Linked DNA regions of Homo sapiens: region 2 is linked to region 1. The links are contacts of gene promoters, found by promoter capture Hi-C in human tissues and cell types (Jung and others, 2019). All regions are on one chromosome and are shown on one strand. The core of a region is centred on a gene start or on the middle of the fragment in contact, and the rest is flanking DNA. Distances in the headings are between cores, read along the strand shown.

The links. Contacts are between HindIII fragments. The study calls those that stand out against the background at their distance.
Region 2: a fragment that was not itself captured here is called in contact with the fragment with the promoter of XPA in region 1 in 1 of the 25 tissues and cell types used here (H1 embryonic stem cells).

The regions. Positions count from the first base shown.
Region 1 is chr9:97,695,939-97,701,838 of GRCh38, reverse strand. It overlaps XPA (XPA, DNA damage recognition and repair factor), which reads left to right and starts at 4,499. Exons shown (of 6, transcript NM_000380.4): 1 at 4,499-4,718. The coding sequence starts at 4,547. It overlaps PTCSC2 (papillary thyroid carcinoma susceptibility candidate 2), which reads left to right. Exons shown (of 11, transcript NR_147055.1): 11 at 1,768-2,214. It also overlaps the pseudogene KRT18P13. RefSeq lists a silencer at 4,338-4,437 and enhancers at 4,988-5,037, 5,048-5,107. The HindIII fragment of the contact is 10,254 bases long and covers 1-5,900 here.
Region 2 is chr9:97,879,392-97,884,900 of GRCh38, reverse strand. No RefSeq gene overlaps it. Among named protein-coding and RNA genes, the nearest start is that of FOXE1, 29 kb to the right of the region's middle. The HindIII fragment of the contact is 4,836 bases long and covers 1-4,652 here.

The DNA of each region.
Region 1 (5,900 bases), core at 3,250-5,749:
CAGGGCTTAAGGTGGTATAATTAGTTATGGCCTCTGAAATGCGGGAGAAGAAAAGAGCAGGGTTTTCATTGGGGCCTTGAGTGATTTCTTTTATCTTTTCAGAGTTTACAGCCTTAAGGGCAGCTTTATCCATGCCAGCTAGGAGGCATGATATCATATAGCTTCGTTTCTGTCTGTCTGAGGAAACTGCTTCATAATCCCAATTGGGGTCAGTTCTGGGGACAGCTAGGGTCCCTATAAGGTTATGGGCAGCATCTTGTTGGTGGAGGGTGTCTGCATGGGCCTGGGTGGTTGTCTGGATACATTCCCTGTCATCCGGGATGAGGGAGGAGTAGAGGATGACATAAACGTCATGCCAGGTAAGGTCATAAGATTCAGTGACATACAGAAATTCCTTGTGGGAGGAGCTGGGGTCGGTGGAAAAGGAGCTAAGTCTCTTTTTAAGCTGGGAGAGGTTGGCTAGGGAGAAGGGAACATGAACTTGGACTATGCCTTCGGCCCTAACACCTTTCTCAAGGGAAGGACTTTGTAAGACCTTTGGTAGTGGGAGTGACCTTTGGCAGAAGGGGGTTGGGTGCAAGACCGGGTGTGCAGTGGAGAAGGAAGGTTGGGATGGAGGACCAGGATAAGGGGGTGGGGGAGCGGAGCCGAAGGAGAAGGAGGAGGGGATGGTGGTGGGAGGGGGACTGAGAGAGGGGGTTTGTTGGCAGGGTTGAAATTACAGGAGGAAGGCTTGCCTGGAGGTGTGAAGTGGTATCTCACTGTGCCTTAATTTGCATTTCCCTAATGACTAATGATGAATATATTTTCATGTGTTTGTTGGCCATCAGTACATCCTCTTCGGAAAAATGTCAATTTAAGTCCCTTGCTCATTTTTAAATTGGGTTGTCTTTCTGTTGTTGAGCTGAAAGTGTTTGTTATAAATTCTGGATACTAGACCCTTATTGGATATCTGATTTGCAAATATTTTCTCCCATTCTGTGGGGTTTTTACCCCAATTTTCTTCATAGTGTTCTTTGACGTAGAAAAGTTTTCAATTTTTTTTTGACCTCTGAACTTTTTATTGGCCTCCTGCTCCCCAAAGTGTACCCTGCTTCTGCTGGCTTAATGTCTCAGAACTTTGGTGTCGTTGGTCAGACACCACTTTGCCATCCACTATCCGGCGGGTGGTGGTCTTTTGGATGGTTTGCATGGAGTTGCTGCTGTCCAGGGCATCACCAAGATTGAAGTCCTTGCCATCCTCCAGCAGGCAGCAGTAGGCAGTGCTCTCAGCCTCCAGCTTGACCTTGATGTTCAGCAGGGCCTTGTACTCTTGAGCCTGGCACTGTCCCTCTGCCCGGGTCTGTGCCAGCTCTGACTCCAGGTGCAGCAGGATCCCGTTGAGCTGCTCCCTCTGCAAGGCATAGCGGGCCTCGACCTCCCTCAGGCTGTTCTCCAAGCTGGCCTTCAGATTTCTCATGGAGTCCAGGTTGATCTTCAAGGACTGGACTATACATCTCAGCTCCGTGAGCATCATCCCAGCAGCTCCAACCTCGGTGGACTGCGTGGTGACCACTGAGGTGCTCTCCTCAATCTGCTGAGACCAGTATTTGTCCAGCTCCTCTCAGTTCTTCCGAGCCAGCTCATCATATTGGGGCCGGATGTCTGCCATGATCTTGGCAAGGTCCCGAGACTGGGGGCATCTACCTCCATGGTCAACCCAGAGCTGGCAATCTAGGCTTGTAGGCCTTTTGTAATGCCCAACCTCATTTTTCCTTTTTCACCTAGGCTTGTTTCCACCTGAACAGACTCTCCCTTAGCTAAGAGAACCAGACAAACTCCATCTTGGCTCTTTCACTGGCAGCCCCTTCCTCAAGGACTTAACTTGTGCAAGCTGACTCCCAGCACATCCAAGAATGCAATTAACTGATAAGATACTGTGGCAAGCTATATCCACAGTCCCCAAGAATTCATCTGTTTGATAACGCCCAAAGCCCTGCATCTATAACCTTGTAATAGTCTTAAAGCCCCTGCATCTGGAACTGTTTACTTTCCTGTAACCATTTATCCTTTTAACTTTTTGACTACTTAACTTCTGTAAAATTGTTTTAACTAGACGACCCCCCCTTTCTAAACCAAGGTATAAAAGTTAATCAAGCCCCTTCCTCGGGGCCGAGAGAATTTTGAGCGTTAGCCGTCTCTCGGTCGCCGGCTAATAAAGGACTCTTAATTCATCTCAAAGTGTGGCGTTTTTTTAACTCGCTCGGGTACAACACTTTTACTTCCTCTTCGTGGTTCTTCTTCATGAAGAGCAGCTCCTCCTTGAGAGCTTCGATCTCTGTCTCCAGCTGCAGCCGAGTGACACTGGTGTCATCAGTGACCTCCGGAGCCCATGGATGTGGCTCTCCACAGACTGGCGCATGGCCAGCTCTGTCTCATACTTGACTCTAAAGTCATCAGCAGCAAGACCAGCATTGTCAATCTGCAGAACAATGCAGGCATTGTCCACAGTATTTGTGAAGATCTGAGTCCTCAGGCCCTCAATGGTCTTGAAGTAATGGCTCATCTCTGACCTGGGGTCCCTTCTTCTACAGGTGCTCCTGGATTTTACTCTCCAGCTTCCAGTTCTTGGCCTCCAGGCTCCTCATTCTGTCCAGGTAGGAGGCCAGGCAGTTGTTCAGGTTTTGCACGGTCTCCTTCTTGTTCTGGATGCCTCTCATTCCTGCCAGACCCCTGGCCATCCCCGCGGCCAGGCCCCCGGAACCCATGCTGCTCAGGTAGCTGGTGGAGCGGGACATGGAGATCCGGGAACCAGAGCCCCCGTGCCTGTACAGACGCTGGCTATGCTGCTGACCAGCCGGACACCGTAGCTGGGTGCCTGGACAGAACCCAGGGACCGGTAGTTGGTGGAGAAGGTGGAGCGAGTGGTGAAGCTTATGCTGTCCAGGGAGGAGAGTGAGAGGACAGGACTCAGGCTTTGCCGACGACTTTAATTTTTTTTTGAGACAAGATGTTATTGTGTTGCCCAGGCTGGAGTGTAGTGGTGCCATCACAGCTCACTGCAGCCTTGACCTCCTGAGATGGGTTCTTGTTACATTGCCCAGGTTGGTCTTGAACTCCTGGTCTCAAGCAATCCTCCTGTGTTGGCCTCCCAAAGGGCTGGGATTACAGACATGAGCCACTGCACCTTGCCAATTATTATTATTTTTTAATAGTGACAGGGTCTCACTGTGTTGCCTCAGCTTGTCTTGAACTCATGACCTCAAGTCATCCTCCTGCCTTGGCCTCCCAAACTGTTGAGATTACAGGTGTGAACCACTGTGCCCAGCCTAGTTTTTAATTTTAATGAAGTCCAGCTTTTTTTCTTTTGTTGCTTGTGCTTTTGATGTTATGGAATTTGAAATAGTTTCACCTGGGCAAGATTGATGGGTAGGGAGAAAGAAGGATCTGAGGGGAAGGGAGATGGGGATGGCTTGAGATTCTATCTCCAATTCAACCTAAGATTTCAGCAGGTAACTGCTTTATACGAGGTTTTGCAGCTTTATGTATATATGACCGATAAATTAGAACACTGAATTGTGTTTCTGAAAGGTTAACCATTGAACATTAGTGGGAAACATCAGTGTGTGAGGTTGTCTTTCTAAAAGCCAGTCCTAAATGGTACATGTAGTAATTAGAAGTTAATGTTTTCTGGTTTCAATTAAGCATTATTTGTAACAAAGGGAAAGCATACATTTTTGGGAAAGCCTGCTATGTTTCTTTTGTTACACTAGCCACACTTTTGGGAAGTCAGGATATTTGGCCCAGATCCAAACCCACTGTCTACCTGGCAGTAGCTCATCCTCACTGAAGGAATATTCCATGGGAAAGATAGCCAACCTTATGCATATCAGCCTTGGAGCAAGTCCTGCATTTGCCTGAGGTCACACAGCAAGTTAACTGGGAGTTTCAACCCAGGTCTTCTCATTTTAAATCTAAGGCTGTGTCTCTAGGCCGTGTATCCAACATAAAATCAGGACTATCATCTGTTGGGCTCTATGACTGGCACTACTACTACTCACTGTTACCATTTTTTGAGGTCTTCTACGTGCCAGGTTATTGTCCTGGCAATCTAATCCTCCCAAAGACTCGGTAAATGGTTCCATAATTATCCTCATTTTACCACTGAAGAAACTGAACTCTGGTTAAATAACTTGCCCAAGGTCACACAGACTTTAACTGTCAAGAGCTCAGACTTAACCCAGGCCTGACTCCAAAGCCTATACTCTGAATCACCAAGCGAGACCTATTTTAAAGGTGACCAGGTCGTGAGATATGATCTCAGCACGGACCCTTCTCCCGGATGACAAGAGAGCAGGTAGTTAGGCGGGTACTCCGTGTCCGCGCATACCCAGACTCCGCCCAGCGCCCGGGCAGGCCACCCCGAGCCCCTTAACTGCGCAGGCGCTCTCACTCAGAAAGGCCGCTGGGTGCGGGGAGCGCAGAGGCGGTGCAGGGCGGCTGGCTCGCCTCGGCGTGCAGTGCGCGTGCGTGGAGCTGGGAGCTAGGTCCTCGGAGTGGGCCAGAGATGGCGGCGGCCGACGGGGCTTTGCCGGAGGCGGCGGCTTTAGAGCAACCCGCGGAGCTGCCTGCCTCGGTGCGGGCGAGTATCGAGCGGAAGCGGCAGCGGGCACTGATGCTGCGCCAGGCCCGGCTGGCTGCCCGGCCCTACTCGGCGACGGCGGCTGCGGCTACTGGAGGTTTGGGCCGCGTCCGCGCTTTCCCCTTCCCTCTCCCCGCCTCCCCGGTCCCCAGACTGGCTCGTGCAAGCCGAGTCCCGGGGCCCGGGGGTCGCGTCAACTCCGCTGGCGTATGTGTGCAGATTCTCCCCGAGTCGGAGAGGGAATCCGCCCAGCCAGCCGCCTTGTCAAAGCGTCCTGTCCACGACCACAGAGCGTTCCTCTGTCGCACGCGGGCCTCCTGACCCCCAGCCCCGGGCCTTCTTCGCTGCACCTCGGCTGCTGGCAGCTTCGATTTTTCGTTTAGGGATGCAGCCGCCCCGGCCGGGAGGTGTCAGCCACTGCCAGGTGTCAGGGCCTCAGCTGTCCCGGAAAGAGGAGTTAGACTAGTTCTTGATTCTGGCCTCTATACCTAGAACTAGTTGATGGAAGAGGCAGATCTTGGTGTTTGTTAGGGAGAGCTTTCAACAATTAGAGTTGCCAAAAGTGCAATGGATTGCTTCTCATGAGCTTCCCGTTACTAGAAGCGCTCAAATAGGAACTGGAAGAACGCTTACTTATGTGGAGGAGAGGAGATTCAGCAATCAGAATCTCCTACTCAGCAATCAGAAGAAGGGACTGGATAGTAAACCTTTAAGATTCTAATCCATAGATTCCATGAGTCTATTTCTTGGACATGTGACCTCTGCGATTTCTTGGCAAAAACTAGTTGCTCAAAACGTGTTTATTGATTGAAGTAAATTAAGGACTGATCTCTCATTGCAGATTATTCTCTTATAGAATTTGCCACTGGGGTCAACTAATAATCTTTAACAGGATACTTAAAATATAGTTTGGTTGACAGGCAGTTCTTCAGGGCTGCCTCTATAACATGAAGTACATGTGTTCCTAAAGCTCTATACTGCCCTTTGTCGAGCACAGTTTAGAGCTGTATTACTCTTTTTTATCAGCCAGATGTAGTGAGAGTGAGAAGAGTCTGAGGCTGGCAGCATGTCTTGATGTTCATACTAACACCGAAACTGCAAATTCCAGCTACTTTTGATGGTACTGGTCTCATCCTTTCTACTTTATAGTGGTTACCTTTTATTCCTTTCTAAACTTGAGGCACGCTAGAGTCAGACAGAAAGTTCATTTGCACTGATTAATTCATAGTCATGATTCCATAAAGGTTTCCAGGTCTACGACATGGCTGTGGAACGGAAG
Region 2 (5,509 bases), core at 985-3,484, 190 kb before region 1:
GATCCTCCAGGAGGCGTTCTAGAAGAAGGCATTGTTATCATAGGAGAGGACAGCTCCGTGTGTGTTATTGTCCCTGAAAACCTTCCAGTGGAACAAAATATGGAGGTGAAAGACAATGATATGGATGACATGGTGAAACCCCGTCTTTACTAAAAATACAAAAATTAGCTGGGCATGGTGGCACATGCCTGTAATCCCAGCTACTTGGGAGGCTGAGGCAGGAGAATTGCTTGAGCCCGGGAGGCAGAGGTTGCAGTGAGCCGAACTTGTGCCACTGCACTCCAGCCTGGCTGACAGAGCGAGACTCTGTCTCAAAAAAAAAAAAAAAAAAAATTGAGATATAATTCACATACTATAAAATTCACCGTTTTAGTACACTTTGATGGCTTAATTATTTTTTTAAGAAATGGGGTCTCACTCTGTTGCCCAAGCTGGGGTGCAGTAGTGCAATCATAGCTTACTGCAGCCTTGAAATCCTGGGCTCAAGCAATCCTACCACCTAAGCTTCCCAAGTAGCTGCGACTATAGGTGTGTACCACCACACTGACTAATGTTTAAAAATTGTAGAGACAGGATCTCACTATGTTGCTCAGGCTAGTCTTGAACTCTTGGCTTCAAGCGATCCTCCCACCTAGGCCTCCCAAAGCGCAGAGATTATAGGTGTGAGCCACTGTGCCTGGCCTAAAGTGTACAATTAGGTGTTTTTTAGGATAGTTTCAGAGTTCTACAATCATCACCACTATCTAATTCCAGAACATTTCATAATTCCTTGAGGAAATCCTGTGTAACCATTATCAGTCACTTCTTATTTCACCCTCCCCCTAAGTCCCTAATAACTACTAATCTTTCTTTCTCTGTGGATTTGGCTATTTTGGATATTTCGTATAAATGGAATTAGATTATATGTGGCCTTTCGTGTCTGGTTCCTTTCACTTAACCTAATGTTTTCAATTTTTTTTCATGTTGTAATATGTATCAGTACTTCATTCCTTTTTATGGCTAAATGATATTCCGTCATATAAATATACCACATTTCGTTTATGCATTTATCAGTTGATGGACATTTAGGCTGTTTTCACTTTTTGGCTGTTATGATTAATGCTGCTATGAACATTCATGTACAAGTTATTGTATGTACATATGCTTTCATTTTTCTTGGGTGTATACCTAGGAATAGAATTGCTGGGTCATTTGCTAGTTTTATGTTGAGCTTTTTGAGAAATTGCCAAACTGTTTTCCACAGTGGCTGTACCATTTTACATTACTACAGCAATGCACAAAGATTCCAAATTCTCATTGTGGTTTTGACTTCTAGTTTCCTAAAGACTAATAATGAACATCTTTTCATTTCTTATTGGCCATTTGTATATCTTCTTTGGACAAATGTCTATTGAAGTACTTTACTAATTTTCAAATTTTTTTATTGTTGAGTTGTGAGAGTTTAAAAATATGTATATTCTGGCTATTAGACCTTTATCAGATACATGATTTGCACATATTTCCTCTCATTCTTTGTCTTTCTACTTTCTTGACAGTGTCCTTTCACATGCAAAGTTTTTAGTTTTGATAAAGTCCAGTTATCTGTTTTTTCTTTTGTTACTGTGCTTTGTTTTTGGTATTATATCTAAGAAACTGTTGAGTAATCCAACATCACAAAGATATACATCTGTGTTTTCTTTTATAAGTTTTATAACATTGTCTATAAACATTAAGGTCTTTATTCCATTTTGAGTTAGTTTTAGCATATGGTGTGTGGTAGGGATCTGAATTCATTCTTTTGCATGTGGATATCCAGTTGTCTCAGCACTATTTGTTGAAAAGGCAATTCTTTTTCCATTTAACGTACATTTGTTGAAAATCAATGACTATTGATTTCCACTGAAGGCACACTGGTTGAAAATCAACGACTATTGATTATGCCAGTAAGGCATAAGGATAGACATATAGATAAATGGAATGGTTTTCATTGCTGTCATTTTGTAGTTTTTTTGTGTGTTTTTATTTTTATTTTTTGAGACAGGGCCTCTGTTTGTCACCTATGCTGGAATGCAGTGGCATGAACACAGCCCACTGCATCCTTAACCTTCTCCTGGGCTCAAGCAATCTTTCTGCCTCAGCCTTCCAAATTGCTGGGACCACAGGTGCATGCCACCATACCTGCCTAATTTTAAAAAAAATTTGTAGATACAGTCTCACCATATAGCCCAGGCTGGTGTCAAACTCCTGGGCTCAAGCAATCCTCCCGCCTTGGCCTCCCAAAGTGCTAGGATTACAGGTGTGAGCCACCGTGCTCAGCCCAATTTCATTTTTTGATTATTCATAATTGACTTTTTTTTTAAAAAGTGAAAGCCAGTTTATTAAAAGAAAATAAAGGAATAAAATAATGGCTACTCCATAGGCAGAGCAGCTCATAACTGACTTTTAAAACAATGCAGTTGCATTATTCTGATAAAAAATGAAAATTAATTCTAAAAATAAGAAAAAAACAGTGTTTGGCAGAGGCTTCATATAAAATTTGAAAATAAGCCTGATACAGAATCCCATTTAGCAAACAAATTATATGAAATTTTTATTTCCAGTAGTTTAGCTCTCCCACTGCAAAAACCCAAATGGTAGATAAATTAGAGCAAAATAATTTAAAATACATTTATGGACTCACAAGAAAATAAAGTCCTTTTCACAATGCTAAAGGCAAATGTTTGTTGAATTGAAATTATATATCAAGTAATGCTATGTTTTAAGAATAAGGGATACATTCTGGGAAGATAGTGATAAATGCAGAATTTTGAGAACAACTTAATAGCAAATCCTCAAGCCCATGCACAGTATTGACAATAAGACTAGGTGACCAGGTATTATCATAAAGCGCACAATATCAAAAGTGGAAACAAAAGGCAATGAGATGGACAATATGAGAGAATAGAAAATTCTATGATTATTATAAGGGATTGTACATTCAACTATTAAGAGACCCAGAGAGAACAGGAGATGTGATGAGGAGAGATGTGTTAAGGAAGTAACATAGGAAATGTCCTAGAATTGTAGGGTATGAATCTCAAAAATGAAAGGTCCTATCAAGTACCCCATACAACAAATGAGAAAAGCCTTATATTAAGATACATCACTGTGAAATTACAGAGCACAAAGAAATAGAGAAAATCCTATAATCTTACAGAGAAAAATGGGTTGCAGAAAGGATTAGAAAGAATAATGGCATCATTTCTAGAAGGCAATGGAGCCATGCCATCAAGATTCAGAGTGAGAATTATTTCCAACCTAGAATTTAATACCCAATGAAACTATCAATGAAGTATGAAGGTAGAAAAATTCATTTTCAGATATGCAAGGTGCATTAGTTAGGATATAAATATTGAGAGGAGGTAGATAAACTTAAGAAAAACAAAAATTATATAAGAAATGTGACATATTTATTGCTTGGCTTATCAGAAAATAAGCTTGATGCATCATAATATACTCGTATAGTAAACACTGGACAGCTATGATGTAGATGTAACTATTTTGGTAGACAGTGGTAGGAATAAACTGGAGAGAAGTGGGTAGAGAGGCAAATCTTTATCTTTTTCAGTTGGAACTCAAAACACATCTTTGCTGGGCCAGTGGCTCACGCCTGTAATCCCAACACTTTGGGAGGCCGAGGCAGGTGGATCACCTGAGGTCAGGAGTTTGAGACCAGCCTGGTCAGCATTGTGAAATCCCGTCTCTACTAAAAATACAAAAAAATTAGCCGAGTGTGGTGGCGGGCACCTGTAATCCCAGCTACTCGGGAGGCTGAGACAGGAGAATCGCTTGAACCCAGGAGGTGGAAGCTGCAGTGAGCTGAGATTGCACCACTGCACTCCAGCCTGGGCAACAAGAGTGAAACTCTGTCTCAGAAAAAAATCAATCAATCAATCAAACAAACAAAAAACACATCTTCTACAATTAAAGAATTTTGAGATTGCAATTACAGATAACAACTACTGTAACCTATATAATATCCTTTTCCTCTTATTTACTAACAGAACACTGATTTTACTTGAGGAAGCTGAGCATTCAGCTAAAAATTAAAAATCTGCCCATCTTTTCTGCAGTGGGGGTGGCCTTGTGACACAATTGTAGCCATTGAAATGTAAGGAGAGGTCCCTGGCAGTGATGTTGAAATGTAAGCAGTCAAGCGGGTTGTCCAGGTACAGTGGCTCATGCCTGTAATCCCAACACTTTGGGAGGCAGAGGCAGGGGAATAGCTTCAGCTTGGGAGTTCAAAACCAGCCTGGGCAATGTAGCAAGACTCTGTCTTTATGGAAAAAAAAATTGTCCAGCGTGGTGGTGCGTCAGTGTAGTCCTAGCTACAGCCACTTGGCAGGCAGAAGTGGGAAGGTCTCTTGAGCCCGGAAAGGTCAAGCTGCAGTGAGCCATGATACATTTAAAAAAAAAAAGAAGGTTGACTCAACTAGCACTTTTCTTTTGTGCCTTTTCATCCATCTACTTACTCCTGCCCTAGTTGCAGACATATGGCTGGAGCTCTGGCAACTCTATTGAAAAGACTAAGACAGAGGTATAGGGTCACCCCTGAAGATCACAGCTATAAAAGGGAAAGCTGTAAGGAGCCAGGTCCTTTTGGCATCATAGACTGCAATATTACCTCTGAACTCCTTTTGACATCAGAGAAAATAACACTGTATCTTTAGGTTTCTGTTACTAGTGCATTTCCTACTTGATAATCAATATATGGATATATAATAGGGGAGTCTAATTGCTTTAACAAATAGATGCCAATATGCACACTGACTCAAACATAATAGAGTTCTTTTTTCATAATAGTACTGGGCAGGTAGAAGCAGACTGGTAGGTCAGTCTTCCTTCTTTCCCTCATTCAGACACTGGCTGATGAATGCTTTTTTTTTTCTTTTTTCTTTTTTTTTTTTTTTTGAGATGGATTCTCACTCTGTCGCCCAGGCTGGAGTGCAGTGGCATGCTCTTGTGCCTCAGCCTCCCGAGTAGTTGGGATTATAGGCATGCGCCACCACGCCCAGCTAATTTTTGTATTTTTAGTAGAGTTGGGGCTTCACCACATTGCCCAGACTGGTCTCGAACTCCTGAGCTCCAGCAATCTGCCCTTCTTGGCCTCCCAAAGTGCTGGGATTACAGGCGTGAACCACTGTACCCAGCCTAATGAATGCTCTTTCATCTTTTAGTATGTGGCTTCCAGAGCCTGCAAGGACATCATCTCCATTCCAGGCAGCCATAACAAGAAAGATCATAGGCTGGGCATGGTGGCTCACACCTGTAATCCTAACACTTTGGGAGGCTGAGGTGGGCAGATTGCCTGAGCTCAGGAGTTCAAGACCAGCCTGGATAACATGGTGAAACCCCGTCTCTACTAAAATACAAAAAATTAGCCGGGTGTGGTGGCGTTTGCCTGTAGTCCTAGCTACTCAGGAGGCTGAGGCAGGAGAATTGCTTGAACCTGTGAGATGGAGGTTGCAGTGAACTGAGATTGCGCCACTGC